Regions from separate parts of the Homo sapiens genome. Here all the other regions are linked to region 2. Evidence: promoter capture Hi-C in 16 types of primary human blood cells and fetal thymus (Javierre and others, 2016). All regions are on one chromosome and are shown on one strand. The core of a region is centred on a gene start or on the middle of the fragment in contact, and the rest is flanking DNA. Distances in the headings are between cores, read along the strand shown. Region 1 has its middle 15 kb from the start of PADI2. Region 2 holds the start of PADI4 (peptidyl arginine deiminase 4). Region 3 has its middle 34 kb from the start of LINC02783. Region 4 overlaps PADI2 (peptidyl arginine deiminase 2).

Region 1 (2,700 bases), core at 114-2,613, 170 kb after region 2:
CCTTCCCAGAACAGCCCTCCCCAGCCCAGAAACTCAAAACCCCTTTTCCTTTGTTGATATTTAAACCCCAGTCCCACCCACCCCTTTGGTTACTGATCGCTGGGTGCTCTCATGTGTATACACAATGCACTTATTAATGAACTTCGGTTTGTTTTTCTCTTGTTCATCTGTCTTTTTCGAGTCTCCCTTATGGGGCCCCAGCCAGAAAGCCTAAGGTGGGTGGAGGAAAAGGATCATTTCCTCGCTCATGCCATAGGGGAGGCAAGCTCTCCTAGAGGGGTGCTAGCCACCCCAAAATATGTCTCTTCGGCACATAGACTATTTTGAGCTAAAGGCCATTGAGAACCAGCACAAGGTGCTGGAGAAAGGCCACAAAGAGTATGTCAGGGAGGCCACCAGGAGCTCATACTTCCTGGAGCTCAACAGGCTTGAGGCAGGACATGCTGTGTGTGGGAATTGTGTGGGGGTGGGCGGGGGGTTGGGAAGGATGGAGGAAGAGATTGTGTGTGCATGGAGGAGGTGCATGGGTGTGTGAGTGTGTGCACAGGTGTTCTGTGAGTAGGTGTAGGGGGCTGTGTGTGTGTATGTGCATGTGGGTGGGGCTGCACAGGTGTGTGGCTGTGCAAAGAGATGTTCTATGAGTAGGTGTAGGAGTGTGTGTGTGCGTGTGCATCTGTGTGTGCATGTGGGTGCATGGCGTGTGGGTGAGTGCACAGGTGTGTGGGTAGATAGGAGTGTGTGTGTGCGCGTGCGCATGCGGGGGTGCTCAGGTGTATGGGTGTGTGTGTGCACAGGTGTGTGGGTAGGTAGGGATGTGTGTATGTGTGAGAGTGTGTGTACATGTGGGGGGTACAGAGGTGTGTAAGTGTGTGTGCACAGGTGTTGTGTGGGTAGGTAGGGGTGTGTGCATATGTGTGTGTGCATGCGGGGGTGCACAGGTGTGTGGGTAGGTAGGGATGTGTGTGTGTGCATGTGGGGGTGCACAGGTGTGTGGGCGTGTGTGCACAGGTGTTGTGTAGGTAGCCCCCAAGGGGTGTGTGTGTGTGTGTGTGCATGCATACATGTGTGTCTGGGCCGGGTGAGAGTGTCGGCACATCTGTGCACGCAGTCAGCTCCATCAAGGCTGAGGTTGAGGCTCTGACCCCTCACAGGACCTCTGGGAATCCAGGCCTTGCTGCCAGTCCTCAGCTGCAGGCCAGGCATCCACCGCAAGCCCTGGCTGGGGAGCAAGGTGAGAAAAAAGAGAAATTTTGTATCTGAGGAATGTGAGCCCCTTTAAACGATCAGGCCCAGAGAGGCACTGAAATGTGACAGCAGCCATGTCTCTCTCCTGCCTTGAGCTAAATAATGACTTCTTGAAGCCACTTGCTATGTGGACTGACTGACACCAGGCAGCCATAAAATGCCATCTGGACACCATACTTCATACCCTATCATTCAACAATGCACAGCCAATCACAGCTCAATGTCATCTCTGCAACCCAGTGAGAATGCCTGTCAAACAACTGTATCTGCTTCAAAAACCTGCTCGTAATGAAGGCTGGACGGAGCACTCCCCAAGGCATCTTAGAAGTGTGTCCTGGGTGGCCGGGTGCAGTGGCTCACACCTGTAATCCCAGCACTTTGGGAGGCTGAGGCGGGTGTATCGCGAGGTCAGGAGATCGAGACCATCCTGGCTAACACGGTGAAACCCCGTCTCTACTAAAAATACAAAAAAAAATTAGCCGGGCATGGTCGTGGGTGCCTATAGTCCCAGCTACTCGGGAGGCTGAGGCAGGAGAATGGCATGAACCCAGGAGGCAGAGCTTGCAGTGAGCGGAGATCGTGCCACTGCACTCCAGCCTGGGTGACAGAGCAAGACTTCATCTAAAAAAAAAAAAAAAAAGAAGTGTGTCCTGGGCTGCTGTCCTCAACCTTGGCCCAAATAAACTCTCTATATTAATTTTGCCTCAGTTTCTTTATTTCAGTCAACAAAAGGTGACTCCATGCAGCTCAGCCCCACAGGAGACCCCGGGGCCCCTGCTTGGAGCCCGTGAGAGCCTGTGAGGGCAGGAGGTCGCCCTCCTGATGCCAAGGGAGGACACATTTCTGCAGCCCACCTGTGTGACCTTTGTGTCCTCTCTTGGACCTCCAGAAGCCATGCCCTGAGTGGGCACTGGGATTCCACAGGACTCAGGGACGCACTCCACTTGGCTGTGGGGCCATCTCAACCTCAGGACGGTGGGGCAGACAGAGTGTCAGGGCTCAGAGGCACCGCAGAGCCTCCCGGGCCAGGGTCTGCACTGGTCCCAACCACACACAGTAAGACACTGGAAAAACCAACTCAACAAATGTGTCCAGGTTGTACCTCTATGGGGTAAAACCCAGTCAGAGCCCAGGCAGCCTCAAGAAGAAAATTCAGTGTTGAACTCAGTAAAGACTCACTCTGATGTCTTCATAGATCGCCAAGGACAACCCCCCCAAAAAGGGAGGACCAGTCTGAGCCAGAAATGCCCCAGGGGGACACATGCCCTCCAGAGGCAGCTGGCTTCTCAGTCACATCCCTGACCTTGGGAAGAGCCTAAACCTGCCTCCCTGTAGCACTCCCTCTGCACCAGCTGCTAAACAGGGACCTCTCTCAGGTTCTGAAATCATTCATTCATTCACAGAGTACCTACCATGAGCTGGGTCCTTCACAGGGCACCAAGAACATAGCAATGA
Region 2 (2,700 bases), core at 179-2,678:
GAAGCCAGGGGCAACCACTCCTATTCCTGACAACAGCAATTGTTGCAGGATAATTTAGGAATCAGAGAGACCGAGGGGTTGAGGAGGATTTATTATTTAGATTCACTGGCTCAGTCAGGCTAACATTTCAAAAGACTGAGCCCTGAACAAAGAGTTAAGTTATCTTTTAAGCATTTCATGGGGCGGGGGTAGATCTGTGCAGGGGGAAGCATATTATAGAGGCAAGAAACAAAGACAGTTATTTAATTGAGACATGCATTATATTATTTTTTACTTTTTAAGGAAAAAAATTTTTACAGCTTGAGTTTATCTGTCTAGTGACCTTGCAGCTGCACAGCTGGAGAAACAGGGTCTTTACAATGCCTGGAAAAAGAGGAGCAATAAGGCTCACTAGCCACAAAAAAACAGGCAGTTAATTTTTAAGGGACTCCAGCTCTTTTTTTTTTTTTTTTCCAGGGAAAATTGTTTTTTTTTTTTTTAACATAGAACTGAGTTTTTGCTTACACGTTTTAAAATTTCTTTTAATTCCTGTTCTACAATAACAACAATGACCCTGCACACTCCCCGAGAGCATTCCTCAACTCTCTTGTTTAACCCAGACCCTGCCACAGAGCATGGCACTCAGCATTTGTTAAATGAGTAAATAAAAACTACCAAGGATGGGCCCACCACTGTGCTAAGTACTCAGCCAACATCTGCACATTTTTTCACATTGAATTCCTATAACCAGCCCATGATGTGAGTATTATCCCCATTTCACAGATGAGGCAACTGAGGCTCAGTTGCCCAAGGCCTCCTTGCTAGCCAGCAGCAGGTCCAGGCTTCCTACCTCAGTCTCTGCCGCCACAGAGCCCCGTTTCGCCATCCCCACCCACGCTATTATGCACCCACTGAGGGAGGCTTAGCTAAGAGATGTGGGGTAACAAACTGTGCTGTGAACCAGGAGGCCCAGGGGCTAACCTTACTTCCAGGGCACACGTGCTGTGTGACCTTGAGCAAGTCACAGACTCTCTGTAAGCTTCTGTTGCCTCGATGAAGACAGGGAGATGGATGGCCTGGTTTGCCCCATAATAATTTATCTGTCGTGTGTTCCTGGGGAATTTGCACTTGTACATGGCAAAGAACCCACAGCCATGAGACTGGCACTTCCCAGGGCTGCTGGGGTCTTCTCTCTCCAGCTACTCCCCTGGCAGTGGCTGCAGAGGCTGGAGCCTAGAGCCTGGGCCAAACACATGCTCCTGTGTCAGTAGAACTGGGTCATCCAGCATCTCCTGACCTGCCTCCAAAACCCCAGAAGGCCCCCCTCTTACCTGCAGATGTCAAGCTGAGTCAAGGTGCCCAGCACACACACGGCATGGGTGGGCTGCTCTGGGGTCACACGGATCAATGTCCCCTGGGCCATCGTCGGGCTAGCTCGTCCCTCTGGCTGTAGGAAGCCCCTGGGCTGGTTCCTTTATATCGCCCAGCAGAGGCCATGAGTCAGCACCTGCGGTCTGTGGCCCAGAGGCTCAACCCCTCCCCACTCAGGTCAGGGGTGTGGGCTCTCAAAATCTCCTCTGCCCTGGGGCTGCCCCTCGGACCTCTAGATGGGTGTCAATGCTGGTACCAGTGGCAGGGTGGCTCTGTCAGTTTCTTGGGAAGGATGGATGGCTCAGAAAGCCTGGGGTGGAGAGTGGGGCTGAGGGGTTGGGTCCTGGTCCTCATGCCCACAGTCCCATCCCTGCCTAGAGGCCCTGAACACCTTGATCTATCCAATCTCACCTATGTCAAACAGGCATATCAGAGAGGAGAAGGTGGGAAAAGCGGGGAGATTTTAGGTAAGCAGTCACAGGCCAGGCTACACGTTCAAAGACCAACCAGGCTTGGGACAAGTCTCTCCACCTGGGCCACCCACATGACAGCTCACATTCTCTATGCCAGGCACGTTTTCCTGCACTTCACATAGAATAGCTCATTACGACAAACCCGTGAACTAGATCATACCATTATCCCCTTATTTCACCCTCACAGCAGCCCTCTGAGGTTGGTGCCATTATTATACCCATTTTACAGAGGAGAAAACAGAGGTGCAGTTCTTCCACAGCTCGAGAGTGGTAGGGCCAGAATTGGAACCAAAGGTGTCCAGTTCCAGAGTGTGAGATTCATTAGCTGCCTGTCTATATGACACGTGCTTTCCAGACTGTATCACAGCTACATCTCGCTACAATACAAGGTGTATATGGGCTTATTATTACAACCCATTTTACAGAAGGAAAATTGAGGCTCAGAGAGTAAAAGTGACTAGCTCTTGCCCAAGGTGCCAGAGCTAGAATGCGGCAGAGCTGGGAAGAGAAGATGAGCTTCCTGGCATGGAAGTTGATGTTCTCTGCATGCTCCAGGATACCTGCCTCTTGCCAGGGCCTCTGGGTGTCAGACCAGACAGTGCAGGTGTGGGCCACGCCTGCCAGGGGGATGCCCATGTGGCCTCAGAGCTGTGGTTGCACCTGGGCCATTGGTGCCAGGCTCTGCCTTTAATGAGGCAACTGGGGGGTGGTGGATGGGTCCCAACAAGGAGCACTCAAAGGGTGCATGCATGGGAGTCTGGCGTGAACATAGAGCGTTTCGTGGGTTGGATATCTTGCGTTTGTTTTTTGTTTGCTTGCTTTGGCTTTGAAGCAAAGAATTTGCCTCATTAATTCAGAGTCAGGCTGTGGGATCAAA
Region 3 (2,983 bases), core at 130-2,629, 150 kb after region 2:
GAGGCACCAATTGATTTAAGCCAATCAGCATATCCCATGCTTCTGGCCACAGCTATTGATTGGAAAATGGACAGATGACCCAAGGCAGGCCAATTGGAGCCAACAAGATCCCATGTATGAACTTTTTTAAGTCACCAGAGAGGTACATTTTTCTGTTCTACCACATATGAATCTAAAAACATAGAGTTCCAGAAACTTCTTGCAGCCACCTTTGGAACACAAAAGGAGAGTATGACTGAGAATAGACCTAATACTGAGGCTATGGAAATGAGCATATATGAGCTGCTGGATCATGCTGTACCTGAAGGCCAACCTACCCATGACTTCAGTTCCATGGGCCAATAAATTCCCATTTTTAGTTGAACTGGGTTTTCTACAACTTGTAGCTGCTGAAAAGTATCTGATACAGCCCAAATCTTGTATTGAATTGTAATCCCCAGTATCAGAGATGGGACCTGGTGGGAGGTGGTTGGATCATGGGGGAGGTTTTCTCATGAATAGTTTAACATCATCTCCCTGTACTGTCCTCACAATAGTGACTTCTCGCAAGAGCTGGCTGGTTTTTTTGTTTTTGTTTGTTTTTGTTTTTTTGAGGTGGAATCTTGCTCTGTCACCTGGCTGGAGTGCAGTGGTGCAATCTCAGCTCACTGCAACCTCTGCCTCCTGGGTTCAAGTGATTCTCCTGCCTCAGCTTCCCGAGTAGCTGGAACTACAGACATGTGCCAGCACACCCAGCTAATTTTTGTATTTTTGGTAGAGACGGGGTTTCACTATGTTAGCCAGGATGACCTCGATCTCTTGACCTCGTGATCCACCCACCTCAGCCTCCCAAAGTGCTGGGATTACAGGCGTGAGCCACCATGCCCAGCCAAGAGCTGGTTGTTTAAATGTGTGGGACACCTAACTCTCTCTCCCTCTTGCTCCCACTCTTGCCACATGATGCACCTGCTCCCCCTTTGCCTTCTGCCATGATTGAAAGCTTCCTGGGGCCTCCCCAGAAGCAGACGCCACTATGCTTCCTATAAAGACTGCAGAACTCTAAGCCAATTGAACCTCTTTTCTTTATAAATTACCCAGTCTTAGGTATTTCTTTATAGCAATGCAAGAATGGCCTAATTCAGTATCCTGACAAATATAAACAGTTTCAACAATGTACCCATAAGAAATTCAGTTGACTGTTTTTATAAAGGTCTCATAACCCTACTGTTACCAGTGGAGGGTGTCTAGGATCTTGGTGTTTTGAATGAAGAACTGGACAAAATGCACAAACAAAGCAAGGAAAGAATAAAGCAACGAAAGTACAGATTTATTGAAAATGAAAGTACACTCCAGTGTGGAAGCAGCCTGAGCAGGGGAAAGCAACCAATCAGAGGTTAAAGTGAAGTTACAAAGTTGCACTTCTATGCACACGAAGACTTGGCCAGCAATCAGTCTGATTGGTTGCAGACAACAACCAATCAGAGGTTGAAGTGAAGTTACAAAAATTACACTCCTATGCAAACATATGATTGGTTGAAGAAAGCAACCAATCAGAGATACTTTCAATTTGCCATTTGCCAGGCAGAAAAGGTGTGGGTTTGCAAAGGGAGTAGCCTCTGGTCTTTTTGTTACTTAGGCGTGGAAAGTTGGGGTTTTCCTTTTGATTTAGTTCTAGGAAGTTAGTGTGAATTGGCCTTAGGTTCCCTGCCTCCAGACCCTATTCTCCTGCCTCACTACTTGTGAGGCGGGAAATTAAAGAAAGAAAGAAAAATAAAATTTAAAAAGGAGAAATAAGCTTTCCTGTATTAGGCTGACTTGCCCCAGAGGCAGCAACAGGCACAGCCCAGACCTAGGAAAAGTCTTGATACTATCTAAGAAGCCAGGACACAAAGGAATGTGCCCTGGAGATTTTCCCAGCACTCCCTCAACATAGGGAGGAGAAAAACAGATTTTCCTTTATCTTACGGTATGAGTTTATAGATTCCTGTTCTCTGTAACTAGTAACTTGAAGTATTCTCTTTTATCTAAGCAGTGGAGTGAAGGTCATAAACCATCTGAGCAGGCCTGAGATACAGCCACCTGGCTGCCATAGTGAAGGTTATGGGATAAGTCTGTGCTAGGCACTAGAGGAAATCTAGATAACAGACATCTGGGCTGCATAGCAATGGTCATGTGTAATCCTGAGTTATGAACCTGTCACAACTTGATTAACTGTCTTTGTTCTGCCTCTGTGTCCTTGCCTTTGTGCCGCTGTAAGCCTGCTTCTAGCTAGCCCACCCCCTTTTTGAAGTGTGTATAGAAGTCAAGTGCTGTCTTTGTTCTGGGCCCAGTTTTTGGATGTTAAGTCTGCTGGGTCTGAGTGCACTCAATAAAGATCCTCCTGTATACACCCCAAGGTCTCTCTGGTCCTCCTGATTCCCACAACACTTGTTATTATAGTGGATTGTAGAAGAGCAGGAAGTGGGGGTTACTCATCCTCCAGCTCCATCCATACTTCCACCTCTCTCCATAGTTTCTGCTAGCTGATCACCTCAAGGTTATCTGCCCAAATGCAAATCTGCAGTGAAGCCCCAGAGTCTCCTGGCTAAGCATACAGGTAGGGCTAAAGAACCCACAGTGGAGGACACTGGCCAAGACCAGCCAGTTTTCTTCCAACTGAAAGGAGCCACAGCTAAACAAAAGATAGGGAAACAAATCCCTATCTTTTGGCCAGCCCTGGCAGAAAGACAGACTTTCCATGGGCAGCCGTGACAGTTTCCTAGCTTTGGCATTTCTGCATGTCCTTAGGTATGTCCTCCCTAATCATATCTATCAACCACCTACTGAGACATCTTCATTTGTAAAGTGATTTATTAATTCAGAGAGTTCCTGTGAGCTTCGAGTGAACCCTCACCTGATCAATAGAAGTTAGACCCAGAATGGCAGAAAAGCACGGTGGGAGAGGTCACTGGGATTTGGGGCTTGGCTTCAAGTTCTGGCTCTGCTACTTCTGGGCTGTGTTATT
Region 4 (2,951 bases), core at 216-2,715, 240 kb after region 2:
CGCAGGTACTGAGCATAGTAGACAACAGTTAGTCATTCAACTCTTTCCCTCCTCTCTCCCTCCCCACTCTAATAGTCCCCAGTGTTTGCCATTGCCATCCTTATGTCCAACATGTTTTTTATTGTGATAAAATATACCTAATCTAACACATTTGTTATTTTAACCACTTGTAAGGACACAGTTCCGGGACATTAAATACATCTACAATGCTGACTAACCATCAGCACTCTCTATATCCGTTATACTTTTTTTTTTTTTTTTTGAGACACAGTCTCACTCTGTCGTCCAGGCTGGAGTGCAGTGGTGCCATCTCGGCTCACTGCAAGCTCCGCCTCCCAGGTTCAAGCCATTCTCCTGCCTCAGCCTCCCCAGTAGCTGGGATTACAGGCGCCCGCCACCACGCCCGGCTAATTTTTTGTATTTTTAGTAGAGGTGGGGTTTCACCATGTTAGCCGGGATGGTCTCAATCTCCTGACCTCATGAACCACCCGCCTCGGCCTCCCAAAGTGCTGGGATTACAGGCGTGAGCCACCATGCTCGGCCTATTTTTTTCTTAAATTACTTTTGTCACTTTTCAGGTTGGTATCCATAATATATCTCATGCCTGAAAGCCTGAGTTCCCGCAGCTGGTTGATACTTACATGACTGCCCCTCAGATCCAAAGACAGTGTTCCTGACTGTCACTGGTGTCTAGGACAGACAAGACCAATTTAACACCACCACCCTTTTTAAATTCCCCACTGATGGGAAGTTTGTTCTTGGATTGGCAAGCTTGAGTCCTGACTTCCTGGAGGCTTCCTCTCTAATATTAAACATACCCTCAAAAACTACCCATAGGATATAGGGACCATTATTTTTGTACAAATAGGGGCAAGCAGTGCCCCAGATTTCTCTTTGTATTTTAGAAAGAGAGATAGAGAGAAAATAGATAGAATACAGTTTGGGGACAGGAAGAAAACTGGACTTTGATGGACAGAAGGCATGGTCAGGCATCGTCATTGTCAGTTCAGGAGTGAAACATTATCTCCTGGACTTAGACATTCATGTAATTGGGACAGACAGAGAGAGGATGCGCGGATGTGCAGTCAGCAGAGAGTAGAAGCACATAGGAGACCTGGGGAGGAAGGTGAACCAGGCAATGCCAAAGAGCCAAGATCTCCGCTGGACCAGAGCCCACAATGTTTGGGGAAAACACATCCCTTTAAAAGATGATAAAAACTACAGACTTGCCCTCCAGAAAAATGCTTATATCAATCTATCTCCTGAACTTGGATCAGTTTTAGAAAATCACAGATCCCTAAAGTTTTCTGTTTCTACCTGGACCCTCCCTTCTGAGTCCCTAAGCCTCAAAGATTACATCCGGCTTGTAGCTGGGCATCTTTACTGCTGTCCAGTTATAAACCTGGGAAGTGCAATGGACCAGCAGTCTCTTCCCAGATGAGGCCAAAATAAATAAACAAATAATAGGTTAAGAGCATAGGCTCTGGAATCAGACTGCCTGATCTGCACACCAACTCTGCCGCTTGCTAGATGTAAGTCCTGAGACAAGTCACATAACTTCTCTGTGCCTCAGTTTCCTCATTTTTCAGGGTAGTGACTACCCCATAGAAATGTGGGGAGGATCCATGAGTTAATTCAATGTAAAGCGTTTAGAAGAGCGTCGGCCACATAGTAGGTGCTCATTGAGCATTAGGCATTACTAATCAAGCTGGAAGCCACATAAGCCATCGTGTGGTACAGGAGGAAAACGCAGGCCACTCCAGAGCAGCAGCCAAGATGAGGCAGCTCTGGAAAACAGGAAGGGTGTCCCCTTTGGCCATGCTGCTTCTGCCACATTCATGCTGGTCAGCTGCTCATCCTTAGGAGTAGGCTGTAGGTGGGAGAACCAGGGGGCTACTTGTAGCACCCCTGATCCCACTGGCCAAAGCAAGAGCAAGGCAGCTGCCACCACTGTCCTGGCTCAGATGTCATGGTCAACTCTGGAGAAAAGAGTGTGTGCTGCCCTCCCCAGACAGAGGGGGGCCTGATTTTGCCTGGGAGTGCCCTCCTGTGATCCAGCCTCTCCCCAGTCCCATCTCCCCAGTCCCAGTCCAGCAGTTAGCCCAGGCCTGGAGGATCTTGGCAAAAGGGGAACACTCAGCCTGGGTATCTAAAGCTTGACCATCCCCTGTCCTTTGAACCCCACAGGCTTGGGTGGGATGAGCAGCAAGCGAATCACCATCAACAAGATTCTGTCCAACGAGAGCCTTGTGCAGGAGAACCTGTACTTCCAGGTGAGGGCAGGGCAGGGGTGCAGGGCCAGAGGGCCCCTGGGAGGGATGAGGCTCAGGCCCTTACATCCTTGGGGCTTCCGTAGAGAATGGCCAAGGGCTCAGGAGCTCCTGACCCCGAGCACAGCAGCACAGGGAAGAGCCTCCACCAGCATCCAGCCAGCCTCCTTGCTTTGCTCCTGGGCTAAAGTCCCAGGGTTAAAGAAGTGCCAAATTGTGCCGCCCCCTCACTTGGGGAGGTAGGACCATGGGCAACTCACTAAGGCTGTCTTTGGGTCTCTCATCTCTAAAAAGGGGATAATGGGGGCCAGACACAGTGTCTCATGCCTGTAATCTCAGAACTTTGGGAAGCCAAGGCGGGAGGATTGCTTCAGGCCAGGGGCTTGAGACCAGCCTGGGCAACATAGTGAGACACTTGTCTCTACAAAAAAAATAAATAAAAACTTTGGCCGGGCCTGGTGGCTCATGCCTGTAATCCCAACTCTTTGGGAGACTGAGGTGGGCAGATCACCTGAGGTCAGGAGTTCAAGGCCAACATGCCCAACATGTTGAAACCCCATCTCTACCAAAAATACAAAAATTAGCCTGGCGTGGTGGCAGGCGCCTATAATCCCAGCTACTTGGGAGGCTGAGGCAGAAGAATCACTTGAACCCAGGAAGTGGAGGTTGCAGTGAACCGAG

Evidence for each region. The method cuts DNA at HindIII sites, captures the fragments that hold promoters and counts their contacts. A CHiCAGO score of 5 or more calls a contact.
Region 1: a fragment that was not itself captured here is called in contact with the fragment with the promoter of PADI4 in region 2 in 4 of 17 cell types (neutrophils, monocytes, megakaryocytes and 1 more); the score reaches 14.8 in neutrophils.
Region 3: a contact is called between a fragment that was not itself captured here and the fragment with the promoter of PADI4 in region 2, in 1 of 17 cell types (monocytes). The highest score is 5.6, in monocytes.
Region 4: a fragment that was not itself captured here is called in contact with the fragment with the promoter of PADI4 in region 2 in 6 of 17 cell types (neutrophils, monocytes, endothelial precursors and 3 more); the score reaches 16.0 in neutrophils.

The regions. Positions count from the first base shown.
Region 1 is chr1:17,132,952-17,135,651 of GRCh38, reverse strand. No RefSeq gene overlaps it. Among named protein-coding and RNA genes, the nearest start is that of PADI2, 15 kb to the right of the region's middle. The HindIII fragment of the contact is 4,354 bases long and covers 1-2,700 here.
Region 2 is chr1:17,306,925-17,309,624 of GRCh38, reverse strand. PADI4 (peptidyl arginine deiminase 4) reads right to left here and starts at 1,428. Exons shown (of 16, transcript NM_012387.3): 1 at 1,311-1,428. The coding sequence starts at 1,402. The HindIII fragment of the contact is 10,543 bases long and covers 1,021-2,700 here.
Region 3 is chr1:17,154,792-17,157,774 of GRCh38, reverse strand. No RefSeq gene overlaps it. Among named protein-coding and RNA genes, the nearest start is that of LINC02783, 34 kb to the left of the region's middle. The HindIII fragment of the contact is 795 bases long and covers 982-1,776 here.
Region 4 is chr1:17,070,728-17,073,678 of GRCh38, reverse strand. It overlaps PADI2 (peptidyl arginine deiminase 2), which reads left to right. Exons shown (of 16, transcript NM_007365.3): 14 at 2,188-2,273. Among named protein-coding and RNA genes, the nearest start is that of SDHB, 18 kb to the right of the region's middle. The HindIII fragment of the contact is 1,384 bases long and covers 774-2,157 here.